3 separate regions of the Homo sapiens genome follow, and regions 1 and 2 are each linked to region 3. The links are contacts of gene promoters, found by promoter capture Hi-C in blood cells and fetal thymus (Javierre and others, 2016). All regions are on one chromosome and are shown on one strand. The core of a region is centred on a gene start or on the middle of the fragment in contact, and the rest is flanking DNA. Distances in the headings are between cores, read along the strand shown.

The links. Contacts are between HindIII fragments. The CHiCAGO score rates a contact against its expected background, and 5 or more counts as called.
Region 1: a fragment that was not itself captured here is called in contact with the fragment with the promoter of SNAP91 in region 3 in 1 of 17 cell types (neutrophils); the score reaches 5.3 in neutrophils.
Region 2: a contact is called between a fragment that was not itself captured here and the fragment with the promoter of SNAP91 in region 3, in 1 of 17 cell types (neutrophils). The highest score is 5.3, in neutrophils.

What each region holds. Positions count from the first base shown.
Region 1 is chr6:84,058,226-84,061,876 of GRCh38, forward strand. All of the region lies in intron 2 of MRAP2 (melanocortin 2 receptor accessory protein 2), which reads left to right. Among named protein-coding and RNA genes, the nearest start is that of MRAP2, 26 kb to the left of the region's middle. The HindIII fragment of the contact is 1,397 bases long and covers 1,611-3,007 here.
Region 2 is chr6:84,152,839-84,156,313 of GRCh38, forward strand. CEP162 (centrosomal protein 162) reads right to left here. Exons shown (of 27, transcript NM_014895.4): 22 at 2,460-2,672; 23 at 1-341. Among named protein-coding and RNA genes, the nearest start is that of CEP162, 73 kb to the right of the region's middle. The HindIII fragment of the contact is 7,858 bases long and covers 1-3,475 here.
Region 3 is chr6:83,707,431-83,711,203 of GRCh38, forward strand. It overlaps SNAP91 (synaptosome associated protein 91), which reads right to left and starts at 1,671. Exons shown (of 30, transcript NM_001242792.2): 1 at 1,415-1,671; 2 at 368-527. The coding sequence starts at 497. LOC105377879 (a long non-coding RNA gene) reads left to right here and starts at 2,012. Exons shown (of 3, transcript NR_136251.1): 1 at 2,012-2,289. RefSeq lists silencers at 640-934, 1,344-1,553, 1,884-1,943. The HindIII fragment of the contact is 3,637 bases long and covers 1-2,810 here.

The DNA.
Region 1 (3,651 bases), core at 1,059-3,558, 350 kb after region 3:
AGGAGGCTTTTGCCATAGTCCAGGCAGCTGATGATGGTGGCTTGGAGCCAGGTAGGGAGAGTGAAGTGGTGAGAAATGCATACATTCTGGATATTTTTAAAAGATGGATCTGGCAAGATTTGTCAATGGATTGGCGGTATGTGTAAGAGAAAGAAGAGTCAAGAATGATTTGAAGATTTATGACCTGAGTAACTGGCAGGATGGAATTGCCTTTAACTGAGAGGGGGAAGAGTATGGGAGAAGGAGGTTTCAGAGAGGAACCCCAGGAGCTCTGTTTTGGACCTGTTAAATTGAGACATCTATCACATATCCAGGAGGACAAGGGAGGAGAGGTGTCGGGGGAAGCCGTAGACTTGAGAGTCATCAGCATGTAAACGGTATGCGTTCAAAGCCAAGAGGCTGGATAAGTGAGTGTAGACAGAAAACTGAAGAGTCCAATGCTGAGCCCTGGGCACGCTTGTGTTTAGAAGTTGGAGGGTTGCATAGCAGCATAGGTGCCTGAGAGGAATGTACAGAAAGTAGGAAGAAAACTGGACAATTGTGGTTTTTTGGACGCCAACTGAAAAAAGGGTTGCAAAGACAGTCTGTGTCAAATGCTGCTATTAGGTCAAGTTAATTGAAGACTGAGATTTGACCATTGGATTTATAATGTAGAAGTTACTGGCAATGATTTGAAAAGCAGTTTTAGTGGAATGCTGGGGGTAAAAGGTTGATGGAATTGGTTCAAGAAAAAATGAGAGGAGAGGAATTGGGGACAGCATGTACAGACAAATCTCTCAAGTGTCTCACTATAAAGGGAAGGAGAGGAATGGGTCATTTATGAAGAGTGTGGCTGGGTGAGACAGGGTGTTCTTAAAGCATCAGAAGCAAAAGCTGATGAGTCAATGAGTGGACAATCACATTTTAGCAGGACCACTCTGGCCGCTGTGTTGAGAAAAGACTAAAGGAATAGCCTCTTAATTTGAGCTATCAGTGGTGGCCAAATTCATGCTTTTTCGTGTGCCACCTTGCAGATACCAGACCCATGCATGGATGGGTCAGCAAGAAGCCAGGTCATTAGGATGAGAAACAGCTAGAGTTTGCAAAGGCTTGGAGTAAGATAGTAGAGACAAGTGTGGGAACATCACTGTTGGCTCTTTGCCAGGAATTCATATCACAGAATTGGCCCTACTGCCTTAGGAACAAAAAGTGGTGTGAGGAAAGTGTCATGAACCTCTCTTTCAAGTGAAGTATTAACCCTTGTTTTTCATATAACCACGAAGTGGAAAGTTCACCATTTATTCTCAGGAGGTGGAGAGGAGGGTGAGTCGGATGGAGTAGTTAACCTAGTCCTACCCTAGATTGGGAAGGAAAAAAATCATGTCAACTTTCAGCTCTCTTGTTCCATTCCATTCATTAAAGGTTAGGTTAAGGGGGGTTACTTTATTCTGACGCATTCCATTTGCAATTCCCCTGGGCAATTGTTCTACCCCTTTACAATAGTAGTCTCTAAGTAGCTCAGTGTCTAGACAGGACAGAGTGTGGTAGCTTGGCGGTGGTGGAAACTCGTTTGGAAGGCTTCTTTTGACTTTCTTAACCATCTAGCCTCATTGGAGCTTTGCTCTGTATAAAGCTTTATTCTGACTTCTTCCCAGAAAAGGATGCTTTTGGGAAGACAACGGGCTCCACTTTTCCCATCTTACTGTAGTGCCTATGCCCATGAAACTTACATGTGAATAAAACTTCAGGAGAGTTTGGATATTTCTGGGATGAGATGGGGATCTCTGATGTTTCTTGTAAGAGGCTCAGGGTGAGAAAATCCCCTGGGGATGGGTCATAGGGCAGAAGATGAGGTTGGGGGAAATTAGTGGAAATAACTTGAGGAAGCTAAATTTTGTTCAAAGGGAAATGTGAATAAGCAGAGCTACTTAAAGCATATTGCCATGAAAAACATAGATGCCGCATTATTAAGGAAATGTTTGGAAATGCTGTTGGATCATGAGGATTCTCAGATTTTACCCACAGCCTGCCTCTCCCCAACTCTGCCGCCACCTGCCTTCTCTGAAGGCTGTAACCCTCCCATGCTTCACATTATTGCTGCTTTTTGATTATCTCCCTGGGGGTACTTAGAAGGGCAGAGGGAAGGGGGACTGGGCTGGGTTGAGGGCACGCTTTCCTCCACCTCTGGGAGTCAGTCCACCATTTGCAGTGTGAAAGCTGTCCTTAGGAGAACACCTTCCTAATACACAGATTTGAAAAATGTCAATCAACATGATTCAATTCTAAACCGAAGACTTAAATATAGCATTGGTGTATAATTTTAGAATTTGCTTTTGCTATGCAGGCAGTTGATAAAGTACAGTGTAGGGAACTGTTATTTATCTGTACAATGTTTCTTCACAGTCCATGCCTAGATAGTTGAGATTTAATTGTTTCATGTTAGTTGTACCTCAGTACATGTGGTGTTTGGTATTTGTCCTTACATCTTTTTTTTTTTTTGAGACGGAGTCTTGCTCTGTCACCCAGGCTGCAGTGCTGTGGCGCGATCTTGGCTCACTGCAAGCTCCACCTGCCGGGTTCACGCCATTCTCCTGCCTCAGCCTCCCGAGTAGCTGGGACTACAGGCGCCTGCCACCACACCCGGCTAATTTTTTTTTTTTTTTTTTTTGTATTTTTAGTAGAGACGGGGTTTCACTGTCTTAGCCAGGATGGTTTTGATCTCCTGACCTCGTGATCTGCCCGCCTCGGCCTCCCAAAGTGCTGGGATTACAGGCGTGAGCCACTGCGCCTGGCCCTTATGTCTTTTTTTATGCCTCATTTCTACTATATTAAAAGGCAAAGTATACAATTTCTATTTCTTTGGCACTTAAGGTTAGACACATTAGTTTTTCAGAGTGCTGAATACACATTGTTAACCTCTAGGCAATAGTATATGTAGGATGAAAGTATGAATTATGCAGAGTAAATTGTTAATCTGATTTCTTCACTTTGGAAAAAGTGCTACATATACATAATTTAATTAGAATAAAGCTTTGCATTTAAACACATTTAATATTTAAGCTCTAATCACTTATTTTTAGAAAATTGCTAAGCATCCTCATTGTATTTCCACATAGACAAGCTTCTTAGTGTAGGCCAAAAAATGTAGAATGATTCAACTCTGTTGTGTCCTAGATTTGAGGCCTTATTGTGCAAGTACCAAGTTCTGTAGACAATCCAATCTAACCCTGGTCCTAGAGATAAAGAATTGTGATTGTTATCCAAGATAGGACCAAGGAGAGCCCTGTTTAGGGAATTACAGACAAAAATGTTATTGGGTTCAAAGGAGGGAGACAACACATCAATTATGGAAATTAGTTGAGGCTTAGTAGATAGTGTAGCGGATGGACTTGGAAGGATGGATACACTTTCATTAGCTCCACGTTGGGAAAAGTTGTTCCAGCCAGGTAGTGGTAAGAGCCCTGGTAAGGTGTGGCTGTGAGGAAGCTGTGGCTAAGGTAAATACAGGGACACAGTGTCCCCTAGTTTGATTGGAAACACATGGCTTTTAAAGTGGTAAATTGGGAGAAAATGACAATTCTAATGACAGTAGCCAGCACCTGTGGTGTACTGTTTTCTCAGATGTCAGACATTGTATAAAGTGCTTTATGTGTGGAATCTCTTTTACTCTGG
Region 2 (3,475 bases), core at 620-3,119, 450 kb after region 3:
TGAAGCCTCTCCACAGTTTTTGAGAGGTCTTGTATTTCTCTCTTTTTTGCAGCCAGTTCTTCATTGAGTCTTACTAATTTAGCTTTAGCATGAGCCTGTTCCACCTGGAATTCTATAGACTGAAAATCTTCATCATCTTTATCATTTTTCTTGACGTCTAATTCAGCATTCTGATGTTTAAGAACGTCTATTTCGGCTTCAAGGTTTCTTACAGTGATCTGATGGGCTTCCTTGATGTCATCAAGTTCCTTCTCTAGGGCTTTAATTCTGGGAGAGTCATGTTGATTCAATTTGCAGGCAAGTAGCTGCTCCTGCTGCTCTAGTCTTTGTTCATACTGAATCTGAAGGAAAGAATCCATGTAATGCCAAACACCTGTTAAACGTTTCATTAGTTGCTGAAGCCCTGCACACTACTGGGTCCTACCTAATCCTTTATTCAGGTACTCATTATACATTCTGATGTCTACAATTCTGTTTCTTGAGTGAGTCAAATGTATTGAAGTCCTAGTCTTTCAGGGCATAACATTATATATTCTTGATATATGTTATGTTATTTAATAATTGATATGTTGCTTCATAACTATTAACTTACATATGTTCTTACACACTCCAAAATTTATTTTAAATCTCACAATAAAACCTATTATTATGCAGTCTTCTCCATGCAAACTGTCAACACACTCTTCGAGGATAAACAGTAAAGCAACTGGGGGCACTGAAGTCTTCGGGAAACAGCACATTTTCAACCTTCTAACATCAATTTATTACTTTCATAGAGAGTAAAATGGCCTGGAATTTGTATACTGGAGCTTTAATATTTTGTTTAGTATTCAGCAAATGAAATAAATAATTTCTCCTACGGAGGGAGGCACGAGCAGTGTTTGCTCATTCATTCAATGGATATTTACCAAGTTATGACCTTATGCCAAGCAACATGCAGGTTCTAGCAACAAAAAGACTCAGTTATTATTTTCAAATAGCTCACAGCTTGGTGAGGAGAGCAACATGGCAGCAGCTACAACGTCCCACAAGTAAAATAATGGGCCTGTGAACATAGTGCAGTGAGTGCAGAGGAGGCGACGCTGCCCTAAGTGTCTGGAGGCTTGACAGAAGGTGGGAAGACTGCACAGAGATAGCACATTTATGTTCGGTCTTGAGAGATGACTGTTAATTTGGGGTTAGGTGGAGTCAGGGATGTTTTGGAAGTAGGAAGAGCATATGCAAAGCTGGCTGAATGTTTGGTATATACAGGGAATCAGAAATGAAAGGGGGAAGAGACAAGTAGTAAGCAAAGGCAGGAGTGGGATGGGGCAGGGGGCTGCAAAAAGAAACAAGTTAGGGTGTTTAGATTTAGATACATAAAAGTGCAGTAGCGGGTTGGAGTTTACACCTGACAGTCTTATTTAGTTGGTGGAACACTAATAATAATTATAATCATTAATTGTTTGCTAGACTCCAGACATGTTATCAGGGATATCTATCTATCTATCTATCTGTCTGTCTGTCTGTCTGTCTGTCTGTCTATCTATCTATCTATCTACCTATCTATCTATCTATCTATGTATCTATCTGTAAAACAGGGTGGAATAGAAGAAACCCAACCTCCTTGATGTGACCTTAATTAACAGGCCACTGTATTTCCAGGTTATCAACCTTCTACTGTTTCTGGAATCTAATGTTCTGTCATTTGTTGCTTTTCTCGGGATATAAATATGTGGGAAATGAAATGAGCTTCCTAGAACATCTCAGCTCCTTCATCTGCAAAATAGTGTTAACAGTATCTACTCCTCACAGGTGTTTGGAAGGATTATGCAAGATGAACAGAGATATTTATGAAAGTATCTAGCATGAATTCCTGACAGACACGTGCTCAACAAATTTTTAAAAATAATCTATAACTGTTATTTGTCTACAAAATTTTTTTTAAAGTAAATTAAATATGTCCTGTTTCATACTTGGTCTGTTCTAGCACTTGTATTTTCTGATTCATTCCTGTTTCACAAAATAATGGAAAACTCAGAAAGTAAGACATTTCTGGAAGATGCTCCCCTACCCGCTGTTCCTAAAATGTATACTTCTGTCTTATTCCCTTACCCTTCTCTAGATAAATTTCAGTGAAAATATTTTCAAACATGGTAATTTCTTTTTTCCTTTTGTACTGGATACATATCAGGTGTGTTTTATTCTGCTTTTTCATGACTTAATTTCCACTAATTCTCATATTGAGAGAGATGATGTAAAGATTATCCTGTGCTTGATTACTCTGTCAGAAATAGAAAAGTTGCTGAAAGACGACACCAAAATAGGATGCACTTGGTTTCTTTTGCACCTATTGATACCAGTGGTAAAGGTTTCATGGGAAAGAATGTTTATAGCTATTTGTTAAAGTGAGATCCTAAGAAGTGCCTGCCCCCATTGTTCATCTCTGACCTTTATCTCTGAGGCTACTTACCACTTACCTTCATTTTCTGAAACTGTTGTTCCATGGTACGAAGGCTTTTCTTTGCATCTTCATCTTTGCCCTCCAGATCAGCTTCTAGCTTTTTTATCCTTTTCTCCATAAATTCCACTGTATTTTTATCCACTGTATCACCAGCTGCTGATGCAGCCAATATTAAAGCAGGTAAAGAATTGGGATATCTTCTCTTCAGAATCCCTTCCATTTCCTTAACCTATTAAAACATATTTTCCACCAAAGAACACTTAGATTTAATAAATGAATTCAGTAAAGTTTCAGGATACAATCTACAGAAATCTCTGTATACAGTAGCATTTCTATATACCAATAACAATCTTGCTGAGGACCAAATCAAGAACTACCTAGGAATATATTTAACCAAGAAGGTGAAGGATGTTTGCCAGGAGAACTACAAACACTGATAAAGAAAACCGTGACACAAACAAATAGAAAAACATCCCATGTGCATAGACTGGAAGGATTAGTGTAGTTAAAATGACCATACTGCCTAAAGCAATCTACAAATTCAATTCAATCCCTATCAAATTACCAAAGTCATTTTTCACAGAATTAGAAAAACCAATCCTACAATTCATACGGAACCAAAAAAGAGGCTGAATAGCCAAAGCAATCCTAAGCAAAAAGAACAAAGCTGGAGGTATCACACTACCTGACTTCAAATTGTACTACGAGGCTATAGCAGCCAAAACAGCACAGTACTGATAAAAATAGACACATAGATCAATGGAACAGAATAGAGAACCCAAAAATTAAGCCACATGCCTACAATCAACTGATCTTGGACAAAGTCACCAAAAAAATACACTAGGGAAAGGACACCCTATTCAATAAATGGTGCTGGGAAAAATGGATTGTCATGTGCAAAAGAATGAAACTGAACTCACACCTCTCACTTTATACAAAAATAAACTCAAGATGCTTTAAAGATCTAAGACCTGAAACTATAAAAATCCTAGAAAAAATTCTAAGAAAAACACTTTTGAACACTGGCCCAGG
Region 3 (3,773 bases), core at 421-2,920:
TCCTCTAATTTGGAGAAGGGAGGGTGGGTGGAGAAAGAAAAAAAGGTGAAAAACATCTAATTCAGTGTGTACAATCTCTCTCTTGTGTGTGTGTATATACATATGCGTGTGTGTGTGTGTGTGTGTGTGTATTTTTCCCCCTCCACCAAGACCTTGGAGGTCAATAAGAGGAAAAAATGGCTCACAAGACAAGGTTTCATGGCTAACCCAAGGGAACACCTTCACAGCTGAAGAATTTCAGCTCAGGGGCAACCTGGCTGGGAGTATCAGAGGCCACAGCATTATGGACCAAGAGCGCAGGCCGCACCACCAGCATCCCAGGCGCCTCTGCCGTGCGCATGTCCCTCTTATATAAAGAGATGCTTACAGTCCAGGTGCTTTTTCTTGGGGCCCATTACTTCATGAGTAGTGGCTTTGCAGACCGCTCTTGCTACAGCAGAGCCTGTAACGCTGTACTGAGCGGCGGCGATCCGATCCGTGAGCGTTTGGCCCGACATCTTCTGTGGTCGCGTCTACCGCCTCCTCTTCTGCAGGAAACAAGGGGAGACGGTCCGGCTTTAATCCGCAGACCCTACCCTCCAAGCACCCAGGCCTTGCCTCCTCCAGCCGCGCGGCGGCTCTCTCCTCCTCCATCCCCACCCTGGCACCACCTCTCGGAGCCAGCAACGCGCCAAGCCCCGCTCCTGCGATGCGGTCCAGGGAGTCTTGGCCGTGAGTAGGGCCGTCACGGAACCCCAGCGTGGGCTCCAGTCGCAGCATCGTGACACCGTCCCCATTCTCCCCCGGCCCCCACATAGGGCCAGACTCACCCCCTGGGGACCCCCCTGTCAATCAGCACTTTCCCCGCAACCTGACCCGCGGGTGCTGGACTAGCCACAACGTGCGTTGGGGTTATTCCCTGGGCGCCGCACCCACCGGTGCCCATCTCCCACCTCAGCAGACTTTCCTCCTAGCAGCCCGCAGGCTTCGGGGAATGCATCGGATACCCAAGCCCTGGCTGCCTCCCTCCTCCTCCTCGCGCTGCTGCAGCAAAGGGCTCGTCCTCCCTCAGTCGCGAAGGAGATTATCCTAGCGTTGCGCCATGTTATGCCCTCGCCTCCCCTTCCTTCCTCGCCGCCGGCTCCAAAGCCTCGCCGAGGCCCATCGCCCGGGCCCCTTCCCCCCGGTTCCAAATCCCTGCCGCAGGGGCCGCCCGGGAGCTCTGCGGAGGCGCCGGAGTCTTGGGGCGCCTCACCCTTCCTGGCTTTGGAGAGGAGCCGGGCTGACAGCGAAGCCCAGTCCCCCGCCCGCCCTGGAGCGCTCCGCGGAGCTGTCACTCGGCCGCTGCCCTTCTCCGCACCCTGGGATTATCCTCTGCGGATCCCCGCGAGACCCTGGCGCGGGGAGGGGGCCGAGTACGGCCGCGGGTACTCACCCCGCCCCTGAGCGGCGCCGCCCGCCGCAGGATGAGCGGAGCCCGGGCCGCCGAGGGAAGCCGCGCCGGTGGATGTGTGCGACCGCGCGTAGCCCCGGTGCCCCCGGGCGCAAAGTCTCCAGCCCTGGCCGGGCCCCGCTCCTCAGCTCCGCGGTCCCGGCGCCCACCGCCCCTGGCCCCTGGCCCCAGAAGCCAGTACCCGCCCGCCGCCGCCTCTTCTGCCAGCGCCGCCGCGTCTCTCTAGCGCTCCGAGCTGCGTCCCCATCCCCGCCCCCACCTCAGCTGTGGCTCCTCCGACGAGTCAGGTGACGGCGGCGGACAAACCCGGACGAGCCCTCGGCGGAGCGCCTCGCGGCCCCCTCCCAGCTACTCACACACACCGCCCCCCGGGGCCGGGAGCTTAAAGGCGAGGGGGCGCCTCGCGCAAGCATCCCCGGCAAGCCGGCGGGGAGAAGAAGGAGGCGGGGAGGCCGACACCCACCCAGCCAGCGGCTCTCCGCTGGGCGCCGGGCCGCCCCTCCGCTGCTGGCGCCGCACCCGGCACGCACTGGGCTCGCGCACCACGCACACCTGCCCGCCGACTGCGGGGGGAGCCCTGGGCGTTGGGGGCGTTGGCCAAGACGGGCGAGTGGGCTTCTCGGGTTCTACTCTGTGAAGGCCAAGGCAAGGGCGTCGTCGCGCGCTGCCTGGCGGAGCCCAGCCCCTTCCCCACACTGTCGCTGACACGCCCGCCTGTCAAAGGCTCCGAGGCCCAGATGAGCAGGGCGATTTTAAATGTCAGATCCTGCCGGCCATCCGCGACCGTCACCTGTGCGTCTTCAGCTCCTCAGGCTCCTCCGCTTGTCTCAGTTACAACTGGGAGCCCGGGTGGGCAGGTAATTCTAGCCACTTTAGTCTTAAACGGATACTGAGGTCTGCTGAAGGGAGAATAATTAACACAGCCGTTAATCGAGTCCCAGATTACCTTCGACAGTAATCATTTGCGTGCATAAAGAAAACCCTTTGTACCCTTAAGAAGTAATTTCTGCCAATTAAATATAGTGTTGGAACGTCCGTCAATTGTATGTCAAGTGTATATTCGAATAGTAAGCAGGAATTTCTAAACAGGGATGTGGAGTTGGTTAATAGCTTCACGTGTTGACATTTTCAAAGGTTGTTATTTATGTTCACCTTTTTTTTTAATTCTCACAGTAGCATGAAGATCAAAACTATATTTGTGAGCTTTCCTGGCATTTTTTCTCCTTGCTTCGGGTGGCTTCTGCTCGGCCTTGAAGCCATATATCGATACCTATCGATCTCAACGTTTTGTTATATATTCCTCTCTTTCACCTGGTACAGTGTTCAGTATGCAGTCATGATTTCCTAACTACTGAGACTGATTCTAGGACTAATTGGAAGCTTAATGACTAAAGAGAGACAGCTTAAGAGCACTATTGTCTCAAGTACTAGTCTTACCATATTTACAAGGGAAATAAAAACGCAATTCTATTAAAAAAACTTGTACTCCAGTTTTATAGCAGCTTAATATAATGGCCCCAAACTGGAGGAAAGCCAAATGTTATTCTACTAGTAAATGAATAAACAAAATATGGTATATCCACATAATGGAATACTACTTAGCAATAACAAGAAACAAACTAATACCATTCATGAATCTCAAATTCATTAGACGAAGGGAAAGAAGCTCTATCAAAAATTCTACTTATTATTTTGATTTCATTTATGTAACATTCTGGAAAAGTCAAAACTATAGAAACAGAAAACACATCAGGTGCCGAGTCAGGTGACGGTGGCATTGGGGGAGGGGACTGCAAAGGGGCAGAAGGAAACTTTTTGGAGAGATGGAAATGTTTTATATCGTGACGGTGATGATGATTATACAGCTGCATGTATTTCTCAAAACTCATCAATTTGTACACTTAAAATTGGCGAATTTTGTTGTTTGTTAATTATACCTCAATATAATCTGATAGAGTTGGGAGTGGCAATATTAATATCAAAGTAGGTTTTACAATAAGGAATATTAATAGCAATAAACAGGCACATTTCATAATGAAAAATTCATTAAGAGCATGGAACAATTCTACTTGTTTGTATATCTAAGAACAGAGCTTCAAAGTAGGACGAAGCAAAACCTAATAGCATTAAAAGGAGAAACAGGCAAATCCACAATTATACTTCAGGATTTCAGCACTTTTCTCTATGTAATAAATAGGACAAGTAGACAGGAAACCTGTAAGGGTATAGATGACTTGAAATAGCCCTGTAGGCCGGACGCGGTTGGCTCATGCTTGTAATCCCAGCACTTTGGGAGGCCGAGCCAGGCAGATCATGAGGTTAGGAGATCAAGACCATCCTG